2 separate regions of the Homo sapiens genome follow, and region 1 is linked to region 2. Evidence: promoter capture Hi-C in human tissues and cell types (Jung and others, 2019). All regions are on one chromosome and are shown on one strand. The core of a region is centred on a gene start or on the middle of the fragment in contact, and the rest is flanking DNA. Distances in the headings are between cores, read along the strand shown.

What was found. The method cuts DNA at HindIII sites, captures the fragments that hold promoters and counts their contacts. A contact is called where the count stands out against the background at its distance.
Region 1: a contact is called between a fragment that was not itself captured here and the fragment with the promoter of ARF4 in region 2, in 1 of the 25 tissues and cell types used here (H1 embryonic stem cells).

What each region holds. Positions count from the first base shown.
Region 1 is chr3:57,949,804-57,954,796 of GRCh38, forward strand. No RefSeq gene overlaps it. Among named protein-coding and RNA genes, the nearest start is that of FLNB, 56 kb to the right of the region's middle. The HindIII fragment of the contact is 8,045 bases long and covers 1-4,993 here.
Region 2 is chr3:57,594,508-57,599,604 of GRCh38, forward strand. It overlaps ARF4 (ARF GTPase 4), which reads right to left and starts at 2,837. Exons shown (of 6, transcript NM_001660.4): 1 at 2,567-2,837. The coding sequence starts at 2,633. It overlaps ARF4-AS1 (ARF4 antisense RNA 1), which reads left to right and starts at 3,282. Exons shown (of 2, transcript NR_132370.1): 1 at 3,282-3,544. It also overlaps a transcript of PDE12 not described here. RefSeq lists enhancers at 2,241-2,290, 2,311-2,460, 2,374-3,573, 2,449-3,154, 2,491-2,540 and 4 more. The HindIII fragment of the contact is 4,316 bases long and covers 1,481-5,097 here.

The sequences.
Region 1 (4,993 bases), core at 2,265-4,764, 360 kb after region 2:
CCCAGTACTTTCCAGCTTTCCAAACCCTTCAGGCCCCACACCACCCTGATTTTTGTCACCTGCAAATAATAAAACTACAAACTGCACTGCACGTACACTTTTGTAAAGGCTTGAATCATTGACTTCCTCAGCCCCACACCTTCTGGTCAGCACAGGGCACTGCACTGCCACTCCAGACAGGCCTGGGCAGTGAGGAAAGGTGCCAGCCACGTGGGCTGGGGGTGGGGAAAGTGACTAATCATGAAATCCTAATTTATAATGTGTTGCTATCCTTAGTTGAGCATTAATTTGGCTCTCAGAAATAGGAGAAGGTGTGGGTGACTGGTCTGAGGAGAGTTTCTGGGCAATTAGAACAAAAACAGAAGCATGCTCTTGCACACAAAGTGGACTTTCTCTAGGGTGGTGGTATTCTCTGGAGAGCTGAACTCAGGGAGTCTTTATTATGTATACTTCTGTGTGTCTAAACTTTATACGGTGCTGGGTGCCGTGGCTCACGCCTGTAATCCCCACTTTGGGAGGCTGAGGCAGGAGGATCAGTTGAGCTCAGGAGTTTAAGATCTGCCTGGACAACACAGGCCTCGTCTCTACAAAAAAAAAATTTTTTTTAATTAACTGGGCATGGTGATGTGCACCTGTGGCCCCAGCTACTCAGGAGGCTGAGGCGAGAGGATTGCTTGAGCTGGGGAAGTTGAGATTTCAGTGACCTGTGATCAGGCCACTACACTCCAGCCTGGGCAACAGAGGGAGACCTTGTCTCAAAAATAAAATAATAATAATAATTAGAAAAACTTTACACAATGAACATATATCCCTTTTAGACCACATTTCCTGAGTCTAAGATGCCATTGATTGAAAGACAATTATTTTCTGTACTCCCCTGAAAGCAAACTGCTACAATGTGTCATCTATTAGACACATCTGCATTTTTGAGATGTTGAAATGTGAAAAAAATGTGCGTCTTCGAATTGACAGAATGAAGTAACTTTTTAAATTAAAAGATATTTTCAGCTGAGCATAGTGGCTCACGCCTGTAATCCCAGCACTTTGGGAGGCTGAGGCGGGTGGATCACCTGAGGTCAGGAATTCGAGACCAGCCTGGCCAACATGGTGAAACTTCGTCTCTACTAAAAATACAAAAATTAGCTGGTTGTGGTGGTGGGCACCTGTAATCCCAGCTACTCAGGAGGCTGAGGCAGGAGAATCGCTTGAACCTGGAGGTGGAGATTGTATTGTGGTGAACAGAGTGAGACAGAGGAAAAAAAAAAAAGATATTTTCCACTTTTGGAAAAAAATTATTTAAATTGCTTTTGCATTCCACTCTCCTGCTCAGAATGATTTCCTCAAAAAAGCCAAGGGAGTCACATTTGAAGATGAGGAAATTTTTTTTTAATGTTTATGTGCCAGTTTCTTGCTAGACCCTGTGCTTTCTCATCCCTGACCCCATGGAGGCCTCATGAGAATGATAAGCCCAAATAAAATTACCACTTATGGAAAAGGAGTAATTTTGCAAGGAAGGAAACTGAAGGTCAGATTGGTGTTCCTGATCATGCAGTTCAGTAAGTGAAGGAGAGGAGGTTCAAACTCAGCTGCTGAGCCCCCGCTCCCCTCTTCTCACCACATGCCTCAGTTCTAAAGCTGTCCTGAGAAAGGAGCCAGGTTGGAACCTAAGCCTCCTCCCAGAAGCCTGGGGAATCAAAGGGCAAAAGGGCTGAGGCCCGGGCTCTGAGGCCCACCCTGCGAATCCCGCTCTGTCTGGTGCAAAGGAAACTGACTTCCTCCATGCACACACTGCTCTGCCAATCTGAGTGACTCAGCCTCAAGATGACCTCACTGTCCTCAGTGGGCTGTTTGGCCGCCTGCTTCATGTCACTGAGCCTCAGCACCCAGCATGTCAGATATGGATTTACGAGTATTTTCTCTGCTCCACTCCTCGAATGTGGCTAGGTTTGAAAAGGTCACACTTCCCCTTGCCCTCCACCTCTCAGCTTTCTGTTGCCAGGCTGCCTCTGCCCCTCCAGCTGCTAAAAACAGCCCAAGCTGCGAAAGCTCTTTGCTCCTGCCAAGCTCTGGTTGGACCACCATCCAGGGGGAGCTGGGGGCTCAGCCTGGATTTTCCCAGTGCCTAGGACAGATGCATGGCTGGTGGAGGACGTTGCTTGCCAGCAAATTGGCAGAGTAAACTGAAATAGTAGCTCTGGGTCTGCGCTACAGCAAAGTATAATTTTCAGAAGGGGTCTCATACAAGTATAGAGTGACCACATGTCAAAGATTGATTTAATTCATTAACAAGGAAACCAACAAAAGGACAAAGCTGGTTTAAGAGATGATTTGAAAAAGTGGCTCTTTTAGTTTGCTAGGGCTGCCATAAGAAATTACCGCCAACTAAGTGGCTTAGAACAGCAGAAATCCATTCTTCTGCAGTTCATGAGGACAGAAGTCCAAAATCAAGGTGTCGGAAAGGCTGGCTCCTCTGAGAGGCACTGGAGGGAATCTGTCCATGCCTCTCCCCCAGCTCCTGATGGTTGCGGGCAGTCCTCGGCATTCTTGGCCTGCAGCAGCATCACTCCAGTCTCCGCCTCTGTGGTCACATGGCCATCTTCCTTGTGTATCTGTAGGCTCCAACTCTCTCCTTATAAGGACACCAGTGATTGGATTTAGAGCCATCTTAATCTAGTATGACCTCATTTTAACTTGATTACATCTGCAAAGTCTCTATTTCCAAATAAAGTCACATTCTCAGGTACTGGGGAATTAGGACTTAAACATATCTTTTTGCTGGGGACACAACTCAACTTTTAACACCTACATTACCAAACTCATTTCTCATTACTCAGCACCACAGACCCCTGGCTTGATAGGGGCATTTGGGGTGCTGGAAAGAACAGAGCAACAGGCAACGTTGATGTCAGCTTTGATCTGTCCCCAGCATTCTGGGATTCAGTGTCAGCCAGTGAAGGCTCAGTGAAAGACAGGGCATCTCCACCTCCGAAGTCAGTACCATGTAGGGTATAAAGAGAGACCTTGGAATCAACTTCCAGGATTCAGTTCCCAATTCTGTCCGCCACTGTGTGTGACTCCTGACATTTCTTCACCTCTCTGGGCCTCAGTTACCTCATCTGTGAAATGGGGGTGATAATGGTACACAGCCTATCAGAGAGTGCTTAGAGCAGCATATGGGAAGCTCTGAATAAATGTTTCCTGCTGACGATGATGATGATTATCCGAATCACTCTCACCTGCAGACACAGCTTTGCCGCTTTTTTGGTGAGATAGGCTGTTCCTGATGGACACGCTGGAAAATTTCCAGTCCCCAGAAAACAGGGCAAGGGCAGTTCCTGATTAGGATAAAGGAAGCCTCTCTGATGGTCACATGCCCAGGTGACTTGTAGGCAGAGGCCAGCCCTGCTTCCTGTCCCCACTTCCCAACTTGCCCTGCTTTTGTGAATGAGCTCTTTCCTAGCTCCTCATCCTGGGTCTAGTTTGGAAGGTAATTTCTCAGTCACTTTTGAGTTGACGCAGGTGGCAGTTTCCTTTATGAACACTCATAACCCAGGGTAAGCTTGACAGGGCAGTTAGAGGCCCAGAAACAAAAGTTGGGAACAACAGCCTTTCCAGCTAGAACTAGAGCTGGCTTGGTGAGAAACAGAAGGCCTCCCTGAGGTTAGAGGCCTAAGCAGACACCAGGTCTGGCCTTCCACATCCCTGCTGGGTGGAGCAAGACTGTCAGCACTTAGGAAGTGCCTTGCACGTTGATCTTTGGGAAGCGAGGGGCTCCTGTCATCTGCGTCCAGACTTCTCCATTCTCAGGTGGACCGCACATGGCCTGGCCAGGCCAGGCCAGGCCCTGAGTGGTGACTGTTGCTGCTGCTGCAGCTGCTTTTGACATTATTGTCTGTAGAATAAAGGTAGAGGCTGGTGGGACCGCTGCAGCCATTCCCTGCCCAAGCCTGACCCTAAGTGCATCTGAGAGTGCTCTGCGTTGAACCAGGAGGGGTCAGGCCCGGACTCTCTAGGCCCCTTTTCAGACACACCCTCCCTGACTTTGAGTCTTCCCCTTTTCAGGCCTGGAAGAGAACAAGGCTTCTTTTTGTTTTTTGTTTTGTTTTGTTTTGTTTTGATGAAGTCTCCACGGGGTTTCACCGTGTTGGCCAGGCTGGTCTTGAACTCCTGGCCTCAAGTGATCCACCTGCCTCGGCCTCCCAAAGTGCTGGGATTACAGGCATGAGCCACCGTGCCCGGCCTGAAACATTGTTATATGGCACATAACTGTATATGTATGTTTTACTTATTTTTTTATCTTTATTTTTTTGAGACAGTCTTGCTCTGTCACCCAGGCTGGACCACAGCAGCACCATCTCCGCTCACTGCAACCTCCACCTCCAGGGCTCAGGCAATTATTCTGCCTCAGCCTCCTGAGTAGCTGGAATTACAGGCGCCCACCATCACGCTTGGCTAATTTTTGTATTTTTGTAGAGGTGGGGTTTCACCATGTTGTCCAGGCTGGTCTCAAACTCCTAACGTCAGGTGATCTGCTCACATTGGCCTCCCAAAGTGCTGGGATTACAGGTGTGAGCCACCACACCTGGCCATCTTTCTGTTTTGTTTTGTTTTGTTGCTTTTGCTTTTCTTTAAGGGAGTGGAGATTTCTAGGAAAGGCATAATTATGGAGACAAAAAGCAGACCATTGTTTGCCTGGAGCTGGGGTTGACTGCAGATGGGCAAATGACAAAATGGACATGTTTGAAAACTAGTTTGTAGTGGTGGTTGCACTAGTGTGTAAATTTACTAAAACTTGTTGAACAATACACTTATTATGGGTGAATCGTATGGCATGCAAATGATTCTTCAATAAAGCTACTTAAAACGTATATAGTTGGGGCACAGTGGATTGAACTTGTAATCCCAGAACTTTGGGAGGCTGAGGCGGGTGGATCACTTGAGCCCAGGAGTTTCAGACCAGCCTGGGCAATATGGCAAAACCCCATCTCTACAA
Region 2 (5,097 bases), core at 1,587-4,086:
CTGTGTTGGTTTTTTAATTACAGTTAACTACAAGCTAACTTCCAATATCTTTTAAAGTTACTTGAACTTTTGAAGAACAGCAGGTGTACGAATTAAATTTAAAACTTCTCCATAGTAGTTTGGCAAACCTGACACATCAGCTAACTGCTATCTCCTTTATACTTTAAAATGGTAAAGTCTGAATAAAACACTGACTCAGGAGGGCATGAATCTTATCTAAGCTTTATAAAGAAAAACGAAGCACACTAATGTAAAACATTAATAATTCCAACAGTTGAATGGGGCAGACACTTTAAAAGTGATCTATTATTTTTGCTGTCAGTCACTCATAAAGCCAGACAGAAAAATGTAAGAATTATCAAACTTCCAAACCACCTTTTTCCCTGTTCATGCACATATCTCCCTCGTACGTTGATACTTCCTTTGATGAGTTACCATAAATGTCGATCTTGTGACTGAAGTGTTTTTTAGTCAAGGAAAACTGATTATCCCAAAATTAAAGTGCAAAACGATAGCATGCCTGAGTAATAAAACATTAAAAACAAGTAACTCCTAAATCCTCCACACAAATGCAGAAACTTAAATATTTTTTCTCTCCCATTTTCTTCGAATCATTTTTTGGGGTGGAGGGAAATGCCTCCCAATATAGTAAATATATGAAAATGCTGGTAGCATACTTCTATATTCCTTGCCCCTCTGATACTTTCATCAATCACAAAAGACTAAGGAATTGAAAAATAGCAATTCATTTACAATAAATCTTAAGTAAAAAGACCAATATACTATGTGTTCTGGAACATAACCATATATTGTTAAATCTCTTTAACGAACAGACTGGAAATTCATTTATCACAGTCCGAAGTCCTCCCATTAACTTCCGATCCTTTTTCAGACTGCCAACTTTCAGCCACTGAAAACTTAAATATGCTTGCCCTCCTAAAATAATTCTGTCCTCTTGACAAAGGAAATCTAAGAAACTTTGAAAGAAAAAATACTTTATGAATGACTCATAAACAATTGATTCACAAAGTGTAAGTACGCTAAGAGGAAAATAAACATGAGCCAATGTATATACTGTTACTCTTTATATACCTTGAAATATTACAGAAGCTTGTGTTTGCAAGTTTTGATGGTAGTACAGCTCTAAAATAAAACCTCCGGCCGGGCGCGGTGGCTCACGCCTGTAATCCCAGCACTCTGGGAAGCCTGGGTGGGTGGATCACCTGAGGTGAGGAGTTCGAGACCAGACTGGCCAACGTGGTGAAACCCCCGTCTCTACTAATAATACAAAAAATTAGCCAGGCGTGGTGTTGCATGCCTGTAATCCCAGCTACTCGGGAGGCTGAGGCAGGAGAATCTCTTGAACCCGGGAGGTGGAGGTTGCAGTGAGCCGAGATTGCGCCACTGCACTCCAGCCTGGGTGACAAGAGCAAAACTCCGTCTGCAAAAAAAAAAAAGGAAGAGAAAAATAAAACCTCCTCCGGTAGAAAACAAGCTAATGAACCAACAAGTTTCAACGTTCAAAGTTAGAGGGGCTTCTTTCAGCGTTATTCTAGTCCATGGAGCTCAGCTGTGATGTAGACTGCTTACAGTAACCGGGAGCGGTTGCTTACTTCAGCCAACTGACAGCCCTTCTCCCTCAGCTGAGCAAAAACACGCCCCCTAAAAAGTAGTTTTTAAAAAGTCAACTTTCTAAAAAGAAATTTTAAAAAAATTGTAGTTACTATTTAACAAGACTACCATAAAATTCAGCGTCATGATGTTCAGTTACTTGAAAATTTATCAGGTATTTTTTAAAAATTCGTTTCTAAAATTTTTTTGCATTAGACCTTAGACCGCCTAAAAATAAGCTTAAAAACCTAGGAGAATAAACCAAACACATTTAAAGTTTTTGAAAATAGTCAAAGAAATAGAAGATAAGCTCAGTTTTCGGAGAATGAGATTAACAAGGAGCGAAAAACTTGAAACGGAATCCAGCGCAAGGCCAAGTTTAGCAAAGTGAGCGCTGAAGGACTCCAGACTCTTCGGAAACCTTGGGTGCTCCCTGGCCACCGCAACTTCCTGCCCCGGGCGGCTCCAGGCTCCGGGTGGCCGCTGGCTTACATACCAATGGAGTATGCAGGGACTGTACACGAAACGCAGAAGGGGAGGGAAAAGGCTGGAGTTGCTCTGCCTCCCTCCTGACCGCTGTCCACACCCGGGCAAGAAGGTATGCAGATCGCACCCCCAGAAAGGGCCTCGCCAAGTGTTTGCTTCCCAGAGTTGGCTTTCCCCACATCTCTGCCCAATGTTGTCCAGCTTTCAATAAGATCAAGGAGAAAAAGCCGAGTCCAGAAAGAAATCTTGCCCGAAGCCCTGTCCCTGTCTCGTCTGGCGACAGATCGGGGGCGGGGGGGATCGCTCACCCTCCGCTCCATTGTTCCCCCTTAAGAATTCCTTCCGACCCCCGACCCGGCGCCCCTCCCCCACCACAGCGGGCGGAGGAAAAAAACAGGCCCAGAGGCCACCCCAATTGTGGAGACCCTGCCTTTCCCAGGTCCCGCCTGACTCGCAGCCCCTCACTCACCCATCAAAATGCGCATCTGCTTCTTGCCAAATAGTCGGGAGAAGAGGGAGGAGATAGTGAGGCCCATGGCGGTAGTGGCACTTGTGATGGGCAGAAGCAGAAGGGGTTTGGGGCGACCCCGTGCTTTCTCCTTTCAAGCTCCCAGGCAAACTAAACGAGAGGGAAGAGAAAGAGCGGAGGAAGAAAGAGGGAGGCAGAAACGTCTCAGTGGCCCCTGTGCCGATGAAGATCCGGCACAGGAATAAGCCGGTAGAGGACCTGCTAGGCGACTGGCGCGGCAGCTCCGGCTCTAGCCTTTAGGCTCTGGCTGTGCCACGTCACGCGGCGGCCGCGGCGACTCCAGCAGCGGCCCGGCCCCTCCAACGCGGACAGAATCGCGTCACCGCCGCCCCATCCCCCTGCGCTTCCGGTGCGCCCGAGCCACTGCGCTTGCGCCTGCAGGGGATTGGCCAGTTTCGCTGACGAGCATCTCTCGACGGCGCCACCGCCCGGACGTGGCCCCAGGAGCCGGGAGAGGCCGGCTGAGGCACATGCGTACTGGGAGACGGACAAAGTCCCACAATACCTCGCTTCGTCACTGCCAAATCAGACTCAGGGTGAGACGCTTCCGCCCGGATGAAGGTATTGTCGGGGTGATAGTCCTTGCTTCCGGAAAGGCGAGCTGAGCATTATGGGTTAGGTGAGGAACCTCGCCCTCTTCTATTACGGTACGCGCGATGGGTATTCCCTGATGCCATGAACTTACACGTTTCACACACGGGACCAGACGCTTGCTTTAGTTGACGCATGAAGACCGGTCCGGTCTTTTGCGGAGAAAAGTGGTTAAAAGCTGACTTGTGGGCCGAGAAACTGTGGCACCCTAATGAGCTAGGGCTAGACGCTTCGACCACCACGCCAAGTGATTCTGAAGATCTCTAATTCTGTCAAGGCGAGAGCGCTCCAACACGTGTTCATCGGCTGTTGCTTTTTAAAGAGAAGGCAAGGAGGAAGTCTTGCTTTTCTTGTACTTTTTTTCCTAGAAGCAGCATTAAAGATTTACTCCTTATGTTGAGGAAGCGGAAAGCCTCTTCACTTTAAAAGTGTTTATGATCGGGCCTGGCGCGGTGACTCACCGCGCCCGGCCTGCTACACCTTTTAAAATTCACAGCAATGATAAATGTATTAGACTCATTGCCAGGATAAAGATTTAATCTATTTTTCTAGTAGTGCCGTCCTATGTGGTTCTGTAGTTGCTTATTCCAACTGGTATATTTCCATAGGATGGGGTTGAATAAGAAAAACTTGCAAACTTTCAGAAACAGTAAGTTATTTTTATATTTTTGAAGGCTTGCTGAGTAACGCTTCTCTTGGTAGCACTACCTTATCTACCCTTCAGAGACTGTTATTTCTTAGGAGTGGCCCTGGGCAATTAAAAGCAAAAACTTCTGGCCGGGCATAGTGGCTCATGCCTGTAATCCCAGCACTTTGGGAGGCCGAGGCGGGCAGATTACGAGGTCAGGAGATCGAGACCATCCTGGCTAACACGGTGAAACCCAGTCTCTACTAAAAATAGAATAAATTAACCGGGCGTGGTGGCGGGTGCCTATACTCCCAGCTACTCCGGAGGCTGAGGCAGAAGAATGGCGTGAACCCGGGAGGCGGAGGTTGCAGTGAGCGGAGATCGCGCCCCTGCACTCCAGCCTGGGCGACAGAGCGAGACTGTCTTAAAAAAACAAACAACAACAACAAAAAAACCCCAAAAACTTCTTTACTCAGAAGTACCCTCCTTTGCATTGGAGATACATGTAAAGAGTTGCTTAGCAGTTGAATAACTCAAAATTGCATTTTGGAAGCTTGCTAAGTGACAAGACCTTCTTGTATCCTTTTGTGAACCCCCAAAATATGAGACAGGCCTCAGTTAATTTAGAAAGTTAATTTTGCCAAAGTTGAGGACACGCGTCCATGACATAGCCTCAGGAGGTCTTGTAGACATGTGCCCAAGGTGATCAGAGCACGGTTTGGTTTTATACATTCTAGGGAGAAATGAGACATCAATCAATATATGTAAGATGAACATTGGTTCATTCTGGAAAGACTGGACAACTCAAAGCAAAGGCAGGAAGACTCTGAGTGGGGAGGGAGCTTCCAGGGCATAGATAGATAAGAGACAAATGGTTGCATTCCTTTGAGTTTCTGATTAGCCTCTCCAAAGGAGGCAGTCAGATATGCGTTTATCTCAGTGAGCAGAGGGGTGACTTTTTAAAGAATGGGAGGCAGGTTGGCCCTAAGCAGTTCCCAGCTTGACTTTTCTCTTTAGCTTAGTGAGGTGGAGGCCCCAAGATTTATTTTCCTTTCACACTTTAGGCCTTATGTCTGTTTTTAGTTTTATATAGTAGAATTCCTTAAAACAATCTTCAACTAATTCTTAGGGTCTTCTTAAATTCAAAAGACAAACCGTATGAGCCCTCCTCCCTGTAACTTATTCCAAATCTTAATCCATGTTTTCTGTTTAGTTATGCAAAATAAATCGAAAGAATTCTGTTCTCCATCTC